3 separate regions of the Homo sapiens genome follow, and regions 1 and 2 are each linked to region 3. The links are contacts of gene promoters, found by promoter capture Hi-C in human tissues and cell types (Jung and others, 2019). All regions are on one chromosome and are shown on one strand. The core of a region is centred on a gene start or on the middle of the fragment in contact, and the rest is flanking DNA. Distances in the headings are between cores, read along the strand shown. Region 1 overlaps KCTD20 (potassium channel tetramerization domain containing 20). Region 2 overlaps STK38 (serine/threonine kinase 38). Region 3 holds the start of ZNF76 (zinc finger protein 76).

What was found. The method cuts DNA at HindIII sites, captures the fragments that hold promoters and counts their contacts. A contact is called where the count stands out against the background at its distance.
Region 1: a fragment that was not itself captured here is called in contact with the fragment with the promoter of ZNF76 in region 3 in 1 of the 25 tissues and cell types used here (adrenal gland).
Region 2: a fragment that was not itself captured here is called in contact with the fragment with the promoter of ZNF76 in region 3 in 1 of the 25 tissues and cell types used here (heart right ventricle).

The regions. Positions count from the first base shown.
Region 1 is chr6:36,449,540-36,452,743 of GRCh38, forward strand. All of the region lies in intron 1 of KCTD20 (potassium channel tetramerization domain containing 20), which reads left to right. It also overlaps the pseudogene RN7SL502P. Among named protein-coding and RNA genes, the nearest start is that of KCTD20, 8.1 kb to the left of the region's middle. The HindIII fragment of the contact is 8,557 bases long and covers 1-3,204 here.
Region 2 is chr6:36,501,531-36,505,205 of GRCh38, forward strand. The region is part of intron 9 of STK38 (serine/threonine kinase 38); the gene reads right to left. Among named protein-coding and RNA genes, the nearest start is that of STK38, 44 kb to the right of the region's middle. The HindIII fragment of the contact is 3,482 bases long and covers 316-3,675 here.
Region 3 is chr6:35,257,581-35,261,051 of GRCh38, forward strand. ZNF76 (zinc finger protein 76) reads left to right here and starts at 2,155. Exons shown (of 14, transcript NM_003427.5): 1 at 2,155-2,261. It overlaps SCUBE3-AS1 (SCUBE3 antisense RNA 1), which reads right to left and starts at 1,875. Exons shown (of 4, transcript XR_001744102.2): 1 at 1,710-1,875. RefSeq lists silencers at 2,138-2,257, 2,268-2,587. The HindIII fragment of the contact is 24,264 bases long and covers 1-3,471 here.

The DNA.
Region 1 (3,204 bases), core at 501-3,000, 1.2 Mb after region 3:
CTGATTGGTGCGTTTACAATCCTTTAGCTAGGCAGAAAAGTTCTCCAATTGCGTTTACAATCCTTTAGGCAGAAAAGTTCTCCAAGTCCCCACTCGACCCAGGAAGTCCAGCTGGCTTCACCTCTCATCTTCACATTGTCATCCCTCTGTTTATGTGTTCTACTCGCCCCATTTTGAGGACTCCAGACATATTGGATTAGGGCCCACCTTAATGACTTCGTTTAAAAGGCACTGTCTCCAAATACAGGCACATTCTGAGGACTAGGGGTTAGGGCTTCACATATGAATTTTGAGGGAGACACAGTTCAGCCCCGACAATCTGTTTAAGAAGTTATGTGTTGGTGGCCGGGCGCGGTGGCTCACGCCTGTAATCCCAGCACTTTGGGAGGCTGAGGCGGGCGGATCACAAGGTCAGGAGATCGAGACCATCATGGCTAACATGGTGAAACTCCGTCTGTACTAAAAATATAAAAAATTAGCTGGGCGTGGTTGCAGGCGCCTGTAGTCCCAGCTACTTGGGAGGCTGAGGCAGGAGAATGGCGTGAACCCAGGAGGCGGAGCTTGCAGTGAGCCGAGATTGCGCCACTGCACTCCAGCCTGGGCAACAGAGTGAGACTCCGTCCTAAAAAAAAAAAAAAAAAAAAAAAAAAAGAAGTTATGTATTGGGGCCGGGTGCAATGGCTCCTGCGTGTAATCCCAACACTTTGGGAGGTGGAGGCAGGTGGATCATCTGAGGTCAGGAGTTTGAGACCAGCGTGGCCAACATGACGAAACCCTGTCTCTACTAAAAATACAAAAATTAGCTGGGCACGATGGCACGTGCTTGTAATCCCAACTACTCGGGAGGCTGAGGTAGGAGAATCGCTTGAACCTGGGAGGCAGAGGTTGCAGTGAGCTGAGATTGTGCCACTGCACTCCAGCCTGGGTGACAGAGTGAGACTCTGTCTCAAAAAAAAAAAAAAGAAAGGTTATGTGTTGGGTAATCTGAATGCTCGTTTCCTTCATCACTATGTCCTACGCCATGAGGCCCAGGCAGCATTCTTTTTCACGTGACTGGCTTTACCTGTTCTTCAGAACCATGCTTACTTTTGTATACCCTGAGAAGCATATTATGCCTCTGTATAAATCATTGTGTTATGTTATATTTAAGATTATCCTGTTAGCCTACTGAATAATGTGCTTGAAAAACTATTCCATACATTAACTTAAATTCCTAATTCATCTATTAAGCTCATTTCTTCTTTAATCTAGATGGAAGAATGTCAAACTATTTTATGTGATAATATATTGTTTTCTGATTAAACTTTAAAAATTTTCTCTTAAACTGTTTCAAGCAGTTTTAAAAATTTATTTTATCTTATTTTACTTTTTAAGAGTTAGAAGTCTTGCTGTGTTGCCCAGGCTGAAGCATAGTAGCTATTCACAGTCTTGATCCCACTACTGATCAGCACAGGAGTTTTGACTTGCCTGTTTCCAGCCTGGGTCAGTTCTCCCCTCCTTAGGCATCCTGGTGGATCCCTGCTCCTGGGAGGTCACCATTGATGCTAAATTTGGTGCAGACACCTGATTGACATAGCGCACTACAGCCCAGAACTTCTGGGCTCAAGTGATCCTCCCACCTCAGCCTCCTAAGTAGCTGGGGCTACAATAGTGTGCCATGGAACCTAGTTACAAGCAGTTTTTAAGAAACCATTCCAATGATTCCAATGTTTTCTTGAGAAGGTATCTGTTTTTAGAGATACATTTTCATTTTTCCTTATTTTAAAGATAATAACACATTCATTTTAGAGACTTTAGAATATTCAGTAAGACAATAACTTTTTAAAAGAAAAGTCACGTGATTCTACAGTTAAGGGAGAATAATCTTTTCCATCTTTTTTCTGTGGATACATTTATTGTTTCAACTTGCCTTTTAAAAATCTAATATATCAATACTATTTCACACTATTTCAGTTATTTTCTTTTCTGAAATAAGGTCTTGCTCTGTCACCCAGGATGAGGTGTAGTGGCAAGATTTCAGCTCACTGCAGCTTTGACCTCCGGGCTTAAGCAGTCCTCCCACGTCAGCCTTGCCCAAGTAGTTGGGACTACAGGTATGTGCCACCACACCCAGCTAATTTTTTTATTTTTTGTAGAAACGAGGTCTCACTGTGTTGTCCAGTTTTGTCTTGAACTCCTGGGCTCAAGCGATCCTCCTGCCTTGGCCTCCCAAAGTGTTAGGATTACAGGCATAAACTGCTGCACCTGGCCCTATTTTAGTTATTTTCAAACAGATTTCTATTTATTTATTTAGAGACAGAGTCTCACTCTGTCACCCAGGCAGTGCAGTAGTGCAGTCTCAGCTCACTGCAACCTCCTCCTCCCCGGTTCAAGTGCTTTTCATGCCTCAGCCTCCTGAGTAGCTGGAATTACAGGTACACACCACCATGCCCAGCTAATTTTTGTATTTTTAGTAGAGACAGGGTTTCGCCATGTTGACCGGGCTGGTCTCAAACTCCTGACTTCAAGTGATCTGCCCACCTTGGCCTCCCAAAGTGCTGGGATTACAGGTGTGAGTCAATGTGCCTGGCCTATTTTTTTAATTGGTGAATCATATGAATTGATTTTTGAATGTTAAACCAATCTTTGCCATAATGTATTATCCTTTTTTATGTGGCTGAATTTGATTTTCTCATAATTTGTTTAGGATTTTTGTGATTATGTTCATGAGAAAGTTTGATATAATTTCTTCGTTAAAAGTGTGGGAAAATTTGCTAGTCAAGCCATTGGATTCTGGAAAAGTTTTAATTATCAATTAAATTTCTTTACTAGATATAGGACTTTGCAGATTTTCTAATTTTTCTAAGTCAGTTTCAATAAATTATAGAATATTCATTTAATCTGCAAATTCTAATTTACTGGCATAAATTGTACAAAATAACTGCTCATCTTTTTAGTCTCATGGGATGTGTACTGATAGTCTTTTTTCATCTGTGATCATTGTAGTGTGCATCTTCATTTTCTTTTTTTTTTTTTTTTTTTTAGATGAAGTCTCACTCTGTTGCCCAAGCTGCAGTGCAATGTCGCTATCTTGGCTTACTGCAACCTCCGCTTCCCGAAGCGATTCTACTGCCCCAGCCTCCTGAGTAGCTGGGACTACAGGTGTACACCATGACACCTGGCTAATTTTTGTATTTTTAGTAGAGATGGGGTTTCACTATGTTG
Region 2 (3,675 bases), core at 807-3,306, 1.2 Mb after region 3:
ATATTTGTCTCAGATCATTTGTCTTTTTTTTTTTTTTTGAGATGAACCACACCTGGCTAATTTTTTGTATTTTTAGTAGAGACAGGGTTTCACCACATTGGCCAGGCTGGTCACAAACTCCTGACCTCAAGTGATCCACCCACCTCAGCCTCCCAAAGTACTGGGATTACAGGAGTGAGCCACCGCAACCGGCCTTGTTTGTCTTAACATTCGTTTTGAGATTTATTCATGTAGCTCTAGTTCACTCATTTCTCTGCCGTATGCTATACTGTTATATAAATTAGTCACAATAGTTTTTATCCGTTCTTCTGTAATGGACAGTTACAGTGCTTCCAGTATTTCACTATGACAAATAACACCTGAATAAACATTCTTTTAATACCTTCTTGGGCACTGTGCAAGCATTCCTCTAGAGTATTAACTAGAATATTGCTGAGCCTTGGGTTATAAGCATTTAAACTTGAGGTATCTTCCATGTCCTCCAAAGTAGTTAGTCCCTATTTAAACCAACCCCGGTGGGGATTAGCTTCTGGTACTCCATATCTCATCAAGACTTGGCTTTGTCAGATTTTTTTTTATTTTTACCAATCTGATGAATATGAAATGGGATCTCTTTTTTTTTCTTTTTAAGAGATGGGGTCTTGCTCTGTCACCCGGGCTGGAGTGCAGTGGTATGATCATAGCTCACTGCAGCCTTGAAATCCTGGCCTCAAGGGATTCTCCTGCCTCAGCCTCCTGAGTAGCTGGGACTGTAGGGATGTGCCAGCATGGCTGGGATCTTGTTTTAATTTGCATTTACTTTATTTCAAGTAGGGTTGAGCACATATTCATATTTTAATTAGCCATCCAGGTTTTTATTATGAATTCCTATTCAGATCCTTTGTCCATTAGTATTTTTTAAGTTGTGTTGTCCTTTTTCTTATTGATTCATAGGAATTCTTTATGAATTCAGGACATTAATCTGTTTAAGATATTTGTATACTGCAAGTATCTTCTCCCAGATTGACGCTTGTTATTTTTATTGTGATTTTTTTAATGAAGTAGTATTTGTTACCAAAAGTAAATATGTCACATACATACATCTGTTAATTACATACATTATCAAATTATAATGCATAATCATGAAAATGAATAGCCACGAGTTCAACTGAAGAACCAAGGAATACCAATATTATTAAAGCTAAACATGTACTCCTCCTCGTCTCTCCTGCTTCTCTTAACCACTATGCTGAATTTCGTGTTTTGTCACTCCTCTGCTTTTAAAAAGAATTTTGCCATCTATCTCTCTAAATGAGATCTTAGTTTTATTTTTGAGCTTTATTAAAATGGTACCATTCTATATACAGTCTTCTGCTATTAGATTCTTCCTCTCAACTTTGTTTCTAAAATTGATTCACACTGTCACAAGTAGCTGTTCGTTCAATTATTTTTACTGCTGCAAAATATTCTATTCCAGAATGTAACTGTTTTCCTGTGGATGGACACTGGATTATTCCCAGTCTTTTGCTATTATGAAAATGCAATAAACATTCTTCTGAATGTCTCCTGGTTCACATGTGCAGTTTCTCCAGGGCCTATGACTAGGGGTAGAATTGCAGCGCTGTAGGGTGTACACATGAATTCTGAAAGATAATTCCAAAGTAGCTGTACTGTGTGGCTTGTCTTTTCATTTCTTTACGTCTTTTGATATATAGAAGGTTTTTTTTCCTTAAAGTAATAAAATAAACCAACTTTTTCCTTTATGAGCTGTAGTTCTTGTTTAAGAAATCCCTCTTTACTCTGAGGTCATAAAGATATTGCCCTGTATTTTCTTTAAAAATTTTTAAAGTTTAATTTCCCATCTAGAATTGACTTTTGCATATACTGTAAGGTAGGGATCCATTTTTTCCATATAGCTAAGTGTGTGTGTGTGTGTGTGTTTGTGTGTGTATGATATATATTTAAATGCAGATATTAACACAAATGCCAGTGTTGTCTTTTGTCTTTAAGCTTTAAAAACTGACATGTGGATTAGGCCCTCTCCAAGAATTTTCATTCTAATCATAAAGGTAAGAAATTACAAACTCTTTAATTTAGAGATGAGGTTTACTCTACCAAAGATGAATGTAAATCTAAGCAGATCTTACTTGTTCAAAGATTTCCATTATAAAACCAGAGGTCTACTGCCAGAGGAAAAGAACTCCTTCAAGATACCAGTGCATTAAAAAAAACTCTTAACGAGTTATAAAATATAGCAAACAACAGGCTCAAACCTGTGAAGGTAAAAGTATTGCTCTTATTCCAGAAACTAGAGTCTGCCACTGGAGCTCGCTCGCATTTTACCACACTTTTTACCACACCATCTGTACCAGGTGTGCCCTTTCCAATCTAAGGACTGCCCCCTTCCCAAACCTTTGTTGTTTTCCACACCAGGGTGTCCTCCAACTCCAACCTCGTAAATCTGTACTCCAGTTTCTCCTTTTTTCTGTCTGGGTATTTCAAGTGTCAATGAAAATTGCTATCTGGAATAGCTCTGTTGGTTGTTAACAGTCATTTCAACTGAATGTGTTCTAACCTTATGATTTTGTGTCAGGGTTTTAGAAGAAATAAAGCAATTTAATTTCCTACTCACTTCTGTAAATTCAACCCTAAAAAATTAAACTGACCAAGATTGGATGCCTATGTGTCTATTACCTTTTATATCTGTAATTAACTTAAAGCTGACTCATATTAATCAGTTACTGGGGCCTAAGGTTATACAGGACGACATAACAATTTAAAACATTACAATATGATTTAAGCAGCCGAGGAATGAAGCTAAAGCCTCTACTTTTTTTAGTGATTCCCAATGGACTAAAAAGTAATAGGCTGAGTAGCAATTACATATGTTAGGCTTAACCTAGAGCAGTAAATTTATATTAACCATTAACGAATATCAATCTTCAGCTTGGTACTAGCTGAATGGGATCACTAACAAAAGGTCAAAGTAACACAGTTAATTAACATTTGGAAGACTGAGAGGTGGCTTCATTTTCTTCAAGTTATGAAAAGAGATAATATGAAGATGACCTTAATTTACACTTTCCCATTTCTACTGTATATAGTATAAAAAGGCAAGAACCTTAACCATAGCATCAGGGCCTTAAGTTTATTCAGATTTTCAAAAATGTTTTTAACTATTAAATGACATTTAACTGCAAATACGAAAATTGTGAAATTGCTTTCCTTATAGAACTATAGAAATGGTTCCTCTAATCATGACATGACCCTTGGGTACACATCAAAGAGCACAAAGCTTGTCTTGGAATATAAGGAACAATTCAAAACACTTAAGCTTTATCCCCAAAATACTTGTCAGCACAGTAGCCAAAGGTTAAATCCTGGCCTCCAAAAAAAAAAAAAAAAAAAAAAAAGAAAGAAAGAAAAGAAAGGAAAGAAAGAAAGAAAAGAAATCACAGATTCCTTACCTTCTGTTTCCAAAAAATAGATAAATATTAGTTTCCCAACAACGCAGGAGCTATTATTTAAGACATAACCTCTTCAGTGGAGGTTCTCCACATTCACTGCACAGTAGAATCACTCAGTCTTTTAAAAACCAGATACCCAGACTATATCCCAGACCAACTGAATCATAATTTCTGTGGGTGGAACCTGGACATCAACATGTTCTGAAGTTCCCCAAGTGATTTTGTTGTG
Region 3 (3,471 bases), core at 905-3,404:
GTTGAGTGGAAGGGATAGGAGAGAAACTGCTAGCAATGGTCTTCAATACTGCCCTCCAAAATATCCTCACCAATTCTCCTGAGAACCTGAAATTACCTTCCATTAGGATCATTACTTCAGATTCAGACACTGTTTCCCAGAGCTCTTGTTAAATGTATAATTGCAGAGGTGACTGGCCATCAGATTACGATCCGTAAGGAATGTGAGAAAAGACAGATATATATATACAGAGAGAGCTATGGAAAAAGGGTGGTTGGAGAGGGACAAACTCAGGTACAGCCTGAGTTCTATTCCCTGCGGTATTTCTAACCCTCAATTCATATTATAAGAGGAGCTACTTAATCTTCTCTCTGTATCTATAAGGTACTTTTTCTTTTTCTTTTTTTTTTTCTTTTTTTGAGACGGAGTCACACTGTTGCCCGCGCTGGACTGCAATGGTGCGATCTTGGCTCACTGCAACCTCCGCCTCCCGGGTTCAAGCAATTCTCCTGCCTCAACCTCCGGAGTAGCTGGGATTACAGGCGCCCGCCACCACGCCCAGCTAATTTTTTTGTATTTTTAGTAGAGAGGGGGGGTTTCACTATGTTGACCAGGCTGGTCTCGAACTCCTGACCTCGTGATCCGCCCGCCTCAGCCTCCCAAAGTGCTGGGATTACAGGCGTTTAAGCCACGGCGCCCGGCCTATAAGTTATTTTCTATGGGAAATAACTTGTCAAACTTCCACCAAAAAGGAATGGAAAGAGGGCAGCATAGTGGCCAGGCAGTTTATTTCCATACTAGGAGATACAGAAGGGATTAATTCTAACCGTAGGAATTCTAACCATCAAATGTCACTCACTGGCCTACCTAAACTGAACTCTGGTCCCAGCCAGAACAAGTCAGGAAGAGGGGATGTCTAAGACCGAAAGGGGGGCTTTCTAGTTAAGCTCTTCAGGCAGGAGAGGAAAAGGATGCCCGCATCCCCAAAGACACCTTTAGCTACCACAAGCCCCAAACCCCGTACTTTGTAACTGTGTCTAGTTTACGTCCTTTAAAAATTATTCTTATTAAGTTAAATTGTTTTCGGGGCGGGGAAGATACAAAAGAAACCAGTTAAAGTCTGAAAGGATAGAGAGGGGAAAGTTTCTCACCTCATTCTTCCAGCCACCCAGTTCCTCTCCTAAAAGGCAATCTTTACCAGTTCCTTCTCTAACGCCCCTCCTTTTTAATTTGATTTTTTACCGAAAGCTCGCTCCCTTTTAATTTTCCCTCAGGTTTCTGAAAATTTCCCAATCGCAGCCCCTCCCAGCAGGGAAATAGTAAAGGGGCTTGGTTTTTATGTTCAACCCAAAGCAAGCCTACAAAAGGGAGTAGTCGGTTTCGAGCCTGACGGTGGAGCTGACGCGGGAATGAGAGAGAACCTGAGAAGACCGCCAGGGCGCCCTCCCTGCGGAGGCGAGTCCCTCACCGCCCCTCTACATCGTCCTTTTCAATAAGGAGCTCTTAATACCTGCAACTGCTTCCTTCAAGGGGTGGCTGGAAGATCAGTAGGCAAGGCCTGCGGACTGCGCACCTTAAAGCGCTTCGGGACCGTAAGACAGTGAGTGCTGAGCGCGCGGCCGGGAAGAAGCCTGGAGGCTCTGAGCTCGGAGGACAGAGACCGAAGCCCCAGGGCCTGCGTCCCTCACAACCTGCGCCTCCTGTCCTCCCGCGCTACTCCCGAAGCGCACCTTCTCGCCCGCAGGCCGCAGAAGTGATGACGCAAAGCCCTCGGGGCCTCCGCCACCTCCTCACGCTTCTGCTGGACCGAATCCTTGGAATGGACAGGTAGCGGTTCCCGATTGCTATAGCGACGACCCGGCTCCGAGCCGCGCCCAGGCCCTGACCCGGGCGTCGTGACGTCAGCACGCCTTCCCTGGGCGCTCAGCCTCGCTGGCCATGCGTCACCCCGGCCTTGGTGGGGGCGGGGCTCCGAAGAGCTCGGTTCAGATCCCGGCCGCCTGGGCTCCAGGAGCCCCGGAACCAGGATAAGTTGGATGGCTGCCGCGGCGAAGCGGGGGGCGGGGTGGACCGTGCCCGGTATTTTCTATACGGGTTCCGGGGCCCGGTAGAGGCGCGCCAAGAGGAAAGGAAAGTGCGGCGGCCCTGGAACCTGGATATCGCGCGAGGCAAGCTGCGCGCGGGCGGGCGGGCTATGGCGCAGGCGGGTTGTGGGGCCGGCGCTGGTGGCGGGGCCCGGTGCATGGCGGTCTGTCGGCGGAGTCGCCCTCGGGGGCTGTCAGGTTGGTGGCTGCGGGAGGAGTGGGCCAACCATGCCCAGGGCGGGAGGCCGGGCGGGCGCAGGACCCCGGGAAGGTCCCGAGCCCGGCGTGCCCACCTCCCTCCGGCCCTAGCAGGGCGGCCTGGCCGCTGGACCGCGGCCGGGCCCCCTCCCCCACCCAGGGTCCCTGCCCCTCTTTTCCGCCTTGCGGCTCCTCCCCCGTGACTCCCAAACCTCACCCCGTGACGGCGCCCGCCTCCACCCTTGTGACCCCACACCCCACCCACTGACCCCAAGACCTCACCAGGTAACCGTTGGTTATTATTCATTGGCTGCTAACCCAGGAATTTCCCCAGCACTTCTCAGAGACCCACCAACCAGTGACTCCCTCAGTTTTAATCCGGTGACTCACATGACCCTGAGATCCCCACACTCCTCCTTAGTGACCCCCAAACCTGGGTAACCCTCCTGGCCCAGTAACCCCCCCGATTCTACCTTGTGTTCCCCACAAACTCGGTGACTCCCCTCAAAACTCTGCTGGCGACTCCTAAGCCCTACTCCAATAGTTTTCCACGCACTCACCTTGTACACAACCCTCAGTATCTTTATCCTGTAGCCGTATGACCCTCGTTCCACGTCTGCCTTTATCCTAAAATCACCCCCACTGGCATCTCTCTCTGCGATCCCAGCCCTTCAGTGTCAATCAGCACATGACTTACAAGCGTCCAGCACCTTTCTGGTGCTAAGGAGGATATAGAGATTAATATGAAGTAGTAATAATTGGAGGCATCAGAGAATTCTGGATCAATCCAGAATCCAGTCAATCCAGTGTGTGGTCCCAGCTCTGTCACTGCTGTGCTTTAGGGACCTGTGAGAAGTCCCCTCCTCAGTCTGGACCTCAGTTTCTCATCATGACTGTGATGAGGTTGGGTTAGATGATCTTTGAGTTTCCTTCCGTCTGTGAAATTGTGAAATTATGCAGTTCTCAGTCAAGATAATAATTTTTTGCAATCATTTTTGTACCCCACCCTGGAAATTTCCTCTTGTAACCTCATCCCAGGATCTGCTTGCATCATGAACCTTACTCCCTCATTCCCGGATCACCCTCTTCACTCTTCATAGTGCATACCCATTTCCCTTGATCAGGCCCCATCAGTTAACATGTTTGCAAAGCAGTATAGCAGAGTGCTTCATTTGGGGGCATTGAGTTCATAACAAACCTAGGTTCCAGA